Regions from separate parts of the Homo sapiens genome. Here regions 2, 3 and 4 are each linked to region 1. The links are contacts of gene promoters, found by promoter capture Hi-C in blood cells and fetal thymus (Javierre and others, 2016). All regions are on one chromosome and are shown on one strand. The core of a region is centred on a gene start or on the middle of the fragment in contact, and the rest is flanking DNA. Distances in the headings are between cores, read along the strand shown.

The links. Contacts are between HindIII fragments. The CHiCAGO score rates a contact against its expected background, and 5 or more counts as called.
Region 2: a fragment that was not itself captured here is called in contact with the fragment with the promoter of NFAT5 in region 1 in 17 of 17 cell types (megakaryocytes, total B cells, naive B cells and 14 more); the score reaches 26.3 in megakaryocytes.
Region 3: a contact is called between a fragment that was not itself captured here and the fragment with the promoter of NFAT5 in region 1, in 1 of 17 cell types (neutrophils). The highest score is 5.2, in neutrophils.
Region 4: a fragment that was not itself captured here is called in contact with the fragment with the promoter of NFAT5 in region 1 in 1 of 17 cell types (neutrophils); the score reaches 5.1 in neutrophils.

The regions. Positions count from the first base shown.
Region 1 is chr16:69,564,674-69,567,546 of GRCh38, forward strand. It overlaps NFAT5 (nuclear factor of activated T cells 5), which reads left to right and starts at 1,293. Exons shown (of 15, transcript NM_138713.4): 1 at 1,293-1,701. The coding sequence starts at 1,629. It overlaps MIR1538 (microRNA 1538), which reads right to left and starts at 1,195; the gene lies at 1,135-1,195. RefSeq lists an enhancer at 1-257 and silencers at 919-1,298, 1,018-1,194, 1,489-1,758, 1,779-2,088. The HindIII fragment of the contact is 15,576 bases long and covers 1-2,873 here.
Region 2 is chr16:69,399,368-69,402,067 of GRCh38, forward strand. No RefSeq gene overlaps it. Among named protein-coding and RNA genes, the nearest start is that of TERF2, 15 kb to the left of the region's middle. The HindIII fragment of the contact is 7,123 bases long and covers 1-2,700 here.
Region 3 is chr16:69,747,699-69,750,551 of GRCh38, forward strand. It overlaps NOB1 (NIN1 (RPN12) binding protein 1 homolog), which reads right to left. Exons shown (of 9, transcript NM_014062.3): 4 at 1,861-1,932; 5 at 1,515-1,640; 6 at 1,220-1,420; 7 at 534-631. Among named protein-coding and RNA genes, the nearest start is that of NOB1, 5.8 kb to the right of the region's middle. The HindIII fragment of the contact is 6,163 bases long and covers 1-2,853 here.
Region 4 is chr16:69,765,872-69,768,571 of GRCh38, forward strand. The region is part of intron 1 of WWP2 (WW domain containing E3 ubiquitin protein ligase 2); the gene reads left to right. Among named protein-coding and RNA genes, the nearest start is that of WWP2, 4.9 kb to the left of the region's middle. The HindIII fragment of the contact is 6,474 bases long and covers 1-2,700 here.

The sequences.
Region 1 (2,873 bases), core at 43-2,542:
AGCGACATCTGTACTGGGCCCTCCTTTGCTGAGAGCTTCTTACCCCAACCCTAGCACTCCAAGTCCCGAGAACTGCTCAATTTCATGGGAAAAAGTCTCTATAATTATATATATATGTATATATGTGTGTATATATGTATGTATATATATGTGTGCATATATATACACATACACATATTACAACAGACTGATTTTCATGAGTTGTAACTATCCTTGTAGATAAAAAACGAAACCATTCGAATAGCTTAAAAACCATGCCCACGTGGCTACTGGCATCAATATTCCACACAAGATTAAAATTACTTCCCAAGATGCACACCCTGCACTCCAGGTAATATTTCAATAACTTGATTAAAAATTTCTCAGAAGTCTATTAGAATCAGAAAACGCTCTGCGGTGTGGGTGAGGATTTTAAATTTTTGCAACGGAAACTTTTGGCTCCACGAACAGAAAAGCAAGAGCAAAAACTCAGTTAAATGCGTTCTTCCTCCATCTTTGCCTAGTCCAAAAGGAAAAAAAAAGAAACAGAAAAAAGAAAAACTGTTTGGAAGAGTAGCGTTGAGGTTTGCTTTTTACCTGTTTTTCCTCTAGAACAGCCAGGTGGATTCACATGATCCAATTTTTTAATTGTCTTCTATGTCCCACTCCGAATAACCCGGATGCCCCAGCACAATCAGAGAGATCGTTTTTTTTAAAAAAAATTTCAGCCTCCAAAGGTAGGAGGGGAGTGTTAGGGGAGAAAGTACTTTAATTAAAAATCAATAACTCGAGGTTTTTGGGATACGGTTTGCCATTTCCTAATTAAGAAATGGGTTTGACAGTCCCTTTGTACACACTGCTATGCAAACCCCAAAGGGTTGGCGGCTGTCCGGGCGATGACACTCCGGTCCCCTGCGAGACCCCGGGCCAGCCAGGCCCGTCCGCCGCCGGCCTCTGGGGTCCGTCCCCGGCTCGCGCAGACCTCTCGCTTCTCTCGGCTCTGTCTCCTGCGCTCAGCTCTGCTCGGGGCCGGCCGCCTCAGGCTCGCCGCCACCAGGTCGTTGCAAATACCTTTTCCCTCCCCGGGGCCCCAGCGCGCGGCCACCTCCCAGCCTCCCCCCCTCCCACCCTGGCAGCGGGGCCCTTTCCCGGCTCAGGAACAGCAGCAGCCCGGGCCGCGCCGGCAGGAAGCGAGGCCCATGTTGCTGCTGTTCCCTGGCGCGCCTCCCCGCCCTCCGGGGGCCGCCACGGCTCTTCCGCGCTCCCGGGCACCCCCCTCCGCGCCTGCGCTGTGCCCCACGGGGGCGGGGCTCAGATTCCTGTCAGCGGCGGCGGCGGTGGCGGCGACCGTCAGTTTTCGCTGAGGAGAAACACGAAACGGACCCTTTGGCTCTCCCCCTTCCCCTTCCCCGTCCTGAACCCCTCTCCTGGTCACCGAGAATCAGTCCCCGTGGAGTTCCCCCTCCACCTCGCCATCGTTTCCTCGGTCCTCGGCCCAGTGGAAGTCACTACCCTCGAGGAGGAGGCAGCGGCAGCCGCCCTCGCGTCGCCGCCCCCGGTTCGGTGCCCGCGGTCCCGGAGAGGAGGTGCCGCCGCCACCGCCGCTCCCCCCCTCCCGCTGCCCTCGGGCCGGGCTGGGTCGAGCTGCGATGCCCTCGGACTTCATCTCATTGCTCAGCGCGGACCTAGACCTGGAATCGCCCAAGTCCCTCTACTCGCGAGGTGAGTCAGGCTGTGGGGGGTGGGGCGTGGGGGCGGGGAGACAGGGAGACAGGGAGACAGGGCCAGGGGAGGCGAGGGGTCCCCGTCCCGCCGGGGGCGGCTGAGCCGCGACCCCCATGGCTTCTTTGGCCGGAGCGGGCAGAGGCCGAAGGGATCGGGGTGACGGTGGAGGGGGCGGGCGGAGCAGTGGCGGCCCCTCCCCCGCGGAGCCGCCGGCCGCTCGGGGCCCAGATTCCGTCGGCCCCCGGGGCTCTGCGGCACCGGTCGCTTCTAGCCGCTCTCAGCCCGTCCGGCCCCGCCAGGCTCCGCGAGCCGCCGGCCCCGGCCTCCCGGGCTCGGGGATGGCCCCAGACTGGGCCCCGCGCTGGGGCCACCGCGATCGGGGCGCCGCGTCTTCTCTTACCGGGACCCTCCTCCCCAGCAAAGTTGCCCCCAAGCGGGCGGCGTGGCCTGGAGCCGGTTCTGAGTGCAGGGTCACCATTTTCCTCCCTTTCCAGCTTGTTTTTGCGCCGTCGTTCCACCCCCTCTCCCTCCGGCCTAGTCCACTCCCTCCCCATGTTGGGACAGCCCCCCTCGACCAGGCGTTCTTCCTTTCCTCGTCATCTTCTTGCTGGAAAGGGCCCGATGGAAAGGGCCCGAATTTTCTTTTCTTTTTTTTTCTCTTCCCACCTCCGTGGCATTCTAATTACTTCTCCCTTCTCCTTTACAAAGATGGGGGTGCCCTCTCTGGATTGGTTTTATTCCTCTCCTCTCCCAGGAGGACCAGCCCAGGCACAGACGCTGTCCTTTGAGAATTTTCTCTGCTTTTCCGTTCAAGGGCTGGTTGCAGGGAGGGAGCTCAGGCAGAGACTTTTCATTTAAGAACTCTTTTGGCTAAGGCCTGCAGGGGATTCCCAGCATCTGAAATATTAGCACTGGAGCTGATCCCTACTCAGGTGAAATTCCTTTACTGGACACCACAAGAATGTGTCAGAACAGGTTCCCTGTGCAAGGGGCTTCAAAACCAAAATATTCCCACTGCGCTCTTTACGCTTTTTAAACCACCGGGAGGGGGCAAAAGACATAACTGGGTTGTTAACTATTCATTTCACCGTGTAAAAAAAAATGTAGGTGTTTCTTCTGCTTTTGGTTTGATGTATCCATCCATTTGCTTATTCCACCCCCTCCAAAAA
Region 2 (2,700 bases), core at 161-2,660, 170 kb before region 1:
TGGCAGATGCTTTGGACTGGGTCACTCAAAACCCATCCCAACCCCTTTCTAGATTTGCTTCCTGGACTGTAGAGGATGGAAAGCTAAATATGACATTTCTCAAACACCCTTGCAGCTCTGGTTCTGTTTATGATTTGGATTGTACTGTGTGAGACTTGATAACTATGAGTCACGTGGAGGGGGAGACAGAGCAGGAAGCATCCATTTTGCTGGCACTGGTCAGGGCAGAGGCAATGCTATTCTGGAGCCAACAGCTGTGGTGGCTGCTTAGCAATTCTTTTCTTTTCTTTTTTGAGTCAGGGTCTCATTCTGTCACCCAGGCTGGAGTGCAGTGGTGCAATCGTAGCTCACTGCAGCCTCAAACTAGTGGCTTCAAACGCTCTTCCTGCTTTGGCCCCCCAAAGTGCTAGGTTTACAAGCATGAGCCACTGTGCCCAACCACAGTGTAATTTTGAAAGTCATTCCTGGATATTTATCCTAGTGTCTATTTCTTCAACTTCCCTAATGAGTCCATGAGCTATCCATACCCCTTAATAAATCCTTTTATGTTTAAATTAGCAAGAGTGAAATCTGTTTTCTGCAACAAAGAAAACTAACCAATACATACATTCAATAAATGTTAGCTCTTACTATTATTTAAAATACTTCATCAAAGGTTTAGTAATAATGGAAGTAATTACATTTCAGGAAAGGAAATTTTAAATTGGCTACTAGATAGGACTATATAAAATAACTTCTGGAGTAGTACTGTCCCACAGAACTTGCTTTTTCTTTTTCTTTTTGAGACAGTCTCACTCTGTCACCCAAGCTGGAGTGCAGTGGTGCCATCATAGCTCAATGCAGACTTGAACTCCTGGGCTCAAGTGATCTTCCTGCCTCAATCTTCCAAATGGCCTCCCAAAGTTCTGGGGTTACAGACGTGAGCTACTGAGCCTGACTTGAATTCACAATATCGGCTCACTGCAACCTCCACCACCCAGGTTCAAGCGATTCTCCAGCCTCAGCCTCCTGAGTAGCTGGGATTACAGGTGCCTGCCAACACGCTCGGCTGATTTTTGTATTTTTAGTAGTGACAGGGTTTCACCATGTTGGCCAGGCTGGTCTTGAACTCCTGACCTCAGGTGATCCACCTGTCTCAGCCTCCCAAAGTGTTGGGGTTACAGGCGTAAGCCACTGCGCCTGGCCAGAACTTTCTTTAATGATGGACATGTTCTGTATTCGCACTCAATATGGTAGCCACTGATTATATGTGGCTTTTGAGCACTTAAAATGTGGCTTCTATAACTGAGGAACTGAATTTTTAATTTGATTTAACTTTAACACACTTAAGTTTAAAATTAAATAGCCACTTGTGGCTAGTGGCTACTGTGTTAGATAGCACAGTCTTGAGTATCCCAGCCCTACCTTTCACAAGGGTGTTTTACAGCTCTCTCTCTCTCTCCCTGGCCAAGGAAACATCTTCAGTCAGTTCTTCCACAAGCCCCAGTCTCAGGGCCACACCATAATAATCTACAGAGGTGCAAAATGCCCACGATGATGACAATTTTTAAACGGTAAATTTAGAGTTTCATTGTACCTAAACCTCATTCTAAGATTGCATATTGACTTTTTATTTGCACGACCGAATGTTTATTGACTATAAGGTACTTGTATGTGTGTATAATGAGAACTGTACAAGAATGTTTACTGAAAAACCAAACACCGCATGTTCTCACTCATAGGTGGGAATTGAACAATGAGAACACGTGGACACAGGAAGGGGAACATTACACACCAGGACCTGTTGTGGGGTGGGGGGAGGGGGATAGCATTAGGAGATATACCTAATGTTAAATGACGACTTAATGGGTGCAGCACACCAACATGGCACATGTATACATATGTAACAAACCTGCACGTTGTGCACATGTACCCTAAAACTTAAAGTATAATTAAAAAAAAGTTTACTGAAGCATTGTCTATAGTAGACAAAGGTTGGAATTAATCTAAATGCCTATCAAAAGAGAAATAGCCAAGCACAATGGAATATTGTATAAAAGTTAAAAAGGGCCGGGCACAGTGGCTCACACCTATAACCTCACCACTTTGGGAGGCCAAGGCAGGCAGATTGCTTGAGCCCAGGAGTTTGAGACCAGTTTGAGGAACATGACAAAACCCTGTCTCTGCAAAAAATACAAAAATTAGCAGGGCATGGTGGCATGTGACTGTGGTACCAGCTGCTTGGGAGGCTGAGGCAGGAGGGTCACTTGTGCCCTGGAGGTGGAGGTTGCAGTGAGCCAACACCATGCCACTGCACTCCAGCCTGAGTGACAGAGGGAGACCCTGTCTCAAAAAAAAAAAAAAAAAAAAAAGAATGACTATCTATAATAATCGTATAAAGTGTTCAATATTATATTATTGAGTGAAAAGAATCAAACTGCAGAATAATATATAGAATATAATTTGTTTTCTTAAAAACATGCATGTAAAAATACTACATGTTTATTTTCTATGAGTACATTTATATGTATGCAAAAGTATACTGAAAAGTCAGTGAGGATAGCCTCAAAACTCCTAGAAGTGATTTTTTTAGAGGAAGGGAGAAAGGAACTGGCGTTGTGGGGAGTGATTAAAGAGAACCAAAACTTTGTCTGCAATGCTCTAATTTTTTTCAAAAGGGAAGAATGTATTACCATATATTCACTAGTAATTAAATGCTAA
Region 3 (2,853 bases), core at 181-2,680, 180 kb after region 1:
CATGTCCCTAACCCCATGCCACTGAGATACGGTGGGAGGTCACTGGCAACCTCTGTCCCCAAGTTCTCAGTGCCCAGGTGGAGACGGAACCCAGGCCCCAGAGGAATGATGAGGTGGAAGAAACACACATAATGTAGGGTTCTCTTTAAACAAGTCTGTAGAAGAAACAGGAATAGTGGCCAGGCGTGGTGGCTCACACCTGTAACCCCAGCTCTTTGGGAGGCTGAGGTGGATGGATCACTTGGAGTCAGGAGTTCGAGACCAGCCTGACCAACATGGTGAAACCCCGCCTCTACTAAAAACATACAGAAATTAAATTAGTCGGGTGCAGTGGTATGTGCCTCTAGTTCCAGCTACTTGGGAGGTTGAGGCAGGAGAATTGCTTGAACCCAGGAGGCAGAGGTTGCAGTGAGCTGAGATTGTACCACTGCACTCCAGCCTAGGTGACAGAGCGAGACTGTTTCTCAAAACAAAAAAAGAAACAGGAAGAGTGTTCCACAGAGGGCACCAGGGCCAGGGCACCAGCTACATACTTGAAACAGCCATGGCAGCGCAAGATGTAGCTCCGGGCCTCACGAATCAGCATGCCGTTCACCGCCAGCACGTGCAGCCCCATCTGCAGCAGAACATTCTACAACCACAAGTTAAAGAAGAAATCAATTTTCTTTTCACATTTCATTTTGTAATTACAGTTAAGGGAACTTCACAAACCCTGCCTTGCCCATATTCCTTGGCTTTTGCGAAGGAAACTCAGCCTGGGGAGGCCTCTCAAGATGTGTAAACGAGGACGAAGGCCCAGGTGTCTTTCTAACACCGTCCTGGAGCCTGTGTTCGTCATTTTCCATGACCTGTCATTAGCAAGCTCTCTCAACAGACATTTTATTTTGTCTGGGCCAAATATACTCATTGCTGGGCTGAAAACCCTCTCTCCCTGTGTTAAGAACCTGACTGACCACATGGCATTATATATACTGAAAAAAAAATCATAAAAAAATCATAAATAGTAAACGTTAAACATTTAATGTACTATACAAATGTTGTCATTATATGACGATTGTCTAGCCTCTAAGCAAAATTAAAAATCACCAAATGGCACAGGTGGTTTCCAGAACCAGGAAAAGAAGCGCTGCACAGCACCAGTTCCGTGTACATCTGTACACCTCGGTAGGACCACTGCCGATGACGTGTGTGACACACGGCCCAGGCCCACCCTACCCACCTGCATGGCGAAGTCTGTGGTCAGGCAGCCAACCCGCACGTCCTCGGGGACGTCACACTGCTCCAGCTCCTGCTGGATCTGCTTGATGTTACTGGGGGTTATCCAGCCACCCCCGTCGTCATCGCTGTCATCTTTTCTGTCTTCAAACCCGTTTTCTTCCTCCTCCTCCTCCTCACTTGGAACGTCCTCACCTCTGTCAATCTGAAACATCAACAGACCTTTCAAACTCCCAACCCACAGGAGCAGTGGAGGAGAAGTTGAGCTGTCGTCAGAAGACCAAAAGTCAAGGCCTCACCAGCAGCTCCTGCAGTTCATGATCGATGTTGGGCAAAGGGTTTCTCCAGAACATGAAGGAACTAAATTCCAGGTTCTCAGGCTCACAAGCTGAGTGTCCTTTTTCTGTTTCTTGTGGGGGTTTAGGCTGAAATTAAAAGAAACAATTTTAAAACCTGAAAATTCATCTGTAGCCACCTCTCAGGTCACAGATGAAATCACATATGATATACAAGTCAGATCAGACAGGGCTGGACAAACTATGTTATTGGTCCGCGTAAATTTAGTTCACTGTGAAGAGATGACTTAGAGAGATGTGACATGTTTCAGAAAAGAGCATGAACGGCCTGGCTTGTCTAAGAAATTACCTTGTAGGGCAGATGGAAACCAGAAATGTGCAGAGGTGTTTCTGGGTGCTGAATCGATGAGCTCACCTTAACCTTTAAAAAAACAAAAAACATATACCTCTTGTTATCAAAATTAAAGATATCCAGTTTTTTTTTTTGGCCGGGCACGATGGCTCATGCCTGTAATCCCAGCACTTTAGGAGGCCGAGGTGGGCGGATCACCCAAGGTCAGGAATTGGAGACCAGCCTGGCCAACGTGGCGAAACCCTGTCTCTACTAAAAATACAAAAATTAGCCTGGCGTGGTGGCAGGCACCTGTAATCCCAGCTACTCAGGAGGCTGAAGCAGGAGAATTCCTTGAAACCGGGAGGCGGAGGTTGCAGTGGGCTGAGATCACGCCACTGCACTCCAGCCTGGGGAACAAAAATGAGACTCTGTCTCAAAAAAAAAAAAGGATACCCAATTTTTTTTTTTTTTTTGAGATAGGGTCTTGCTCTGTCACCCAGGCCGGAGGGGAGTGGCACAACCTTGGCTCACTGCAACCTAACCTCCGACTCCCAGGTTCAAGCGATTCTCATGCTTCAGCCTCCCAAGTAGCTGGGATTACAGGTGTGCGCCACCATGCCCCACTGATTTTTGTATTTTTTAGTAGAGATGGGGTTTCGCCATGTTGGCCAGGCTGGTCTCAAACTCCCAGCCTCAAGTGATCTGCCCATCTCAGCCTCCCAAAGCGCTGGGATTACACACAGGAGCCACCGAGCCTGGCTGACATCCAGTGTTTTAAAAAAATCAGAGAATAAAAATAAAAAAATAGCTGGGTGCAGTGGCTCACTAACTCCCAGCCCTTAGGAAGGCTGAGGTAGGAGGATTGTTTTGGGCCAGGATTTTGAGACCAGCCTGGACAAAAGTGACACCCTGTCTCTATAAAAAAATTTTAAAATTAGCCAGGCATGGTGGTGTACACCTACAGTCCCAGCTACTCGGGAGGCTGAGGTAGGAGGACTGCTTGTGCTC
Region 4 (2,700 bases), core at 12-2,511, 200 kb after region 1:
AGGCTGGTCTTGAACACTTGGCCTCAAGACATCCTCCTGCCTCAGCCTCCGAAAGTGCTGAGATTACAGGCATGAACCATTGCACCTGGCTCAGTCTCTTAACTCTAAATACTATCCACATGCTAACAGCTTCCATATGTGTGTCTAGCCTAGGCCTGTCTCGAGACTTCTAGATCTAATTGCCCACAATATCTTCACGTGGATTCCTATCAGGCATTTTATAATCAACATCAACAAAATTGAGCCCTACACCTGCCCCTCAGACAGCCTTCCCCATCTCAGTTAATGACAACTCCATTCCTCCAGTTGTTCAAGCCAAAGACCTTGGAGTCACCCTTGACTCGTCTCTTCCTCTCACACCCCACATCCAACTCAGCTCGTCCACAAAGCCTACTGGCTGTACTTCAGAGTACACCCTGGATGCATCTTTCCCCTGGATGATGGCAACAGCCTCCTAACTTGTCTCCCTCTTCCACCCTGGCTGGCCTTCACTTTCTCCACACAGGACCCAGGGCAAGTCTGTTAAAAGGCAGGGTGGATCCTGTCCACTCCACTGCCCAACTCAAACCCTCCAATTGTCCCAGCTTAACTGGAGTGAAAACCAATACCCTACAATGGCCTGCAAGCCTTCCATGACCTGATCTCTCCTCCCACACCCACCACCACCCTGACCTCCTCTCTCCACTCCTGCTTACTCAATCCCCTCCAGCCACACTGGCCTCCTGACTGGTCCCAAAACCTGCCAGTGGTACTCCTTATTTGGGGCTTTTGAACTCTGCCTGGACCCTTAAGCCCCTATTCAGCCACATGGCCCCTTCCTTCCCTCACTTCCTCAGATCTTTACTCAACCATCACCTTCAGAGAGAGGCTTTTCTAGGGATCCTATATTTTACTTTATTATTTTTGGAGTGTTGTTCTGTTGCCCAGGCTGGAGTGCAATGGTACGATCTTGGCTCACTGCAACCTTCACCTCCCAGGTTCAAGTGACTCTCCTGCCTCAGCCTCCTGAGTAGCTGGGATTACAGGCATCTGCCACTATGTCCAACTAATTTTTGTATTTTTAGTAGAGATGGGGTTTCACCAGGTTGGTCAGGCTAGCCTCAAAATCCTGACCTCAAGTGATCTGCCTGCCTCGGCCTCCCAAAGTACTGGAATAGGGGTTTTGTTTTTTTTTTTTTTAATCTTTTTGAAAACCACAAGCTAATGGGTTTCTTTTTTCTTAATGAGGCTACTCTTCCAACTGTGCATCTTTATAGCACCCCTGAAATCAATTTGAGTGCCAATTTCTGGAATTAGTCTGGCTTCCTGGGTTGGCATCCAGTTTAGGCCTCCAGGATGGATGGATAATGGGCTTTTTATGTTTGAAATATGTATTGGTTTTTTCAAACATGTATTGAATGCATGTTGTTTGTCAGGCATCCCACCATTTTATACATTTAACCTTGTTGAGGTGAAGTGACCCTCACGAGGTCAGATAGCTAAGAAATGAAAGAGATGGCCATTTGAATCTTGGTCTTCAGAGTCCACATCTGGTCCTTCTACCACTTATCATTAGTGAGATGGGTGGAGTGGCTATATAAACATAAACTCCCTTTGGAATCAAATCAGTGAGTTGCTTTTGAGCGACTTTGAGTCCCTTAGGACTATTATGTGTCACAGGCAGAAAGGGAATTTACCAGGTAAAGAAAGGCAGATTTATTAAAGTGAAAACACGTTGCAAGAAAGCAATGGGCAGCACAGCAGAGAAGGGGCTGTCTGCAAAGAGGCAGGAGATGGAGGGAAGTTTTACAGGGTTGTGCTGGAGGGGGCTATGTGGGGATTGATGCATCTGAGGGCTGTTTGTGATTAATCATTTCTCAGAACGACTGTCCATGGCTTTCCCCTACCTGAGGCCCCTTCCTCGTTGTTGCTTACTTATCTTATTAGGACTCCACATTATGGACTCTGAAATTTCTTTTCTTTCTTCTTTATTTGTTTTGCTTTTGAGACAAGGTCTCATTCTGTCACCCAGGCTGAAGTACAGTGGCATGATCATGGCTCACTGCAGCCTCAACCTTTTGAGCTCAAGTGATCCTCCCATCTTAGCCTTCCAAGTAGCTGAGACTATAGGCATGTGCCACCATGCCTAGCTAATTTTTAACTTTTTTGTAGAGATGGGGTCCCACTATGTTACTCAGACTGGTCTTGAACTCCGGGCTCAAGTGATCCTCCTGCCTCAGCCTCCCAAAGTGTTTGGGGTTACAGGTGTGAGCCACCACAACTGGCTAGGGCTCTGGAATTTCTGAAAGATGGGAACAAAAGGGAAGATGTTTCCCCTGGATGATGGGACAGGTTAGATTCTAACCAAAATCTTTTTAGAAGGTTGCAGTTCCCTGTTTTTCACCCCACCGCAGTTTATAGCAAATATTCAGTGATTTAAATCATTACTACTAATAATAACTATTAGGAAAATACCAGCCAGGCATGGTGGCTCACACCTATAATCCCAGCACTTTAGGAGGCCGAGGTGGGTAGATCACCTGAAGTCAGGAGTTTAAGACCAGCCTGGCCAACATGGAGAAACCCCGTCTCTACTAAAAATACAAAAAATTAGCTAGGCGTGGTGGCAGACACCTGTAATCCCAGCTACTTGGGAGCCTGAGGCAGGAGAATCGCTTGAACCCAGGAGGCGGAGGTTGCAGTGAGCCGAGATTGCATCAC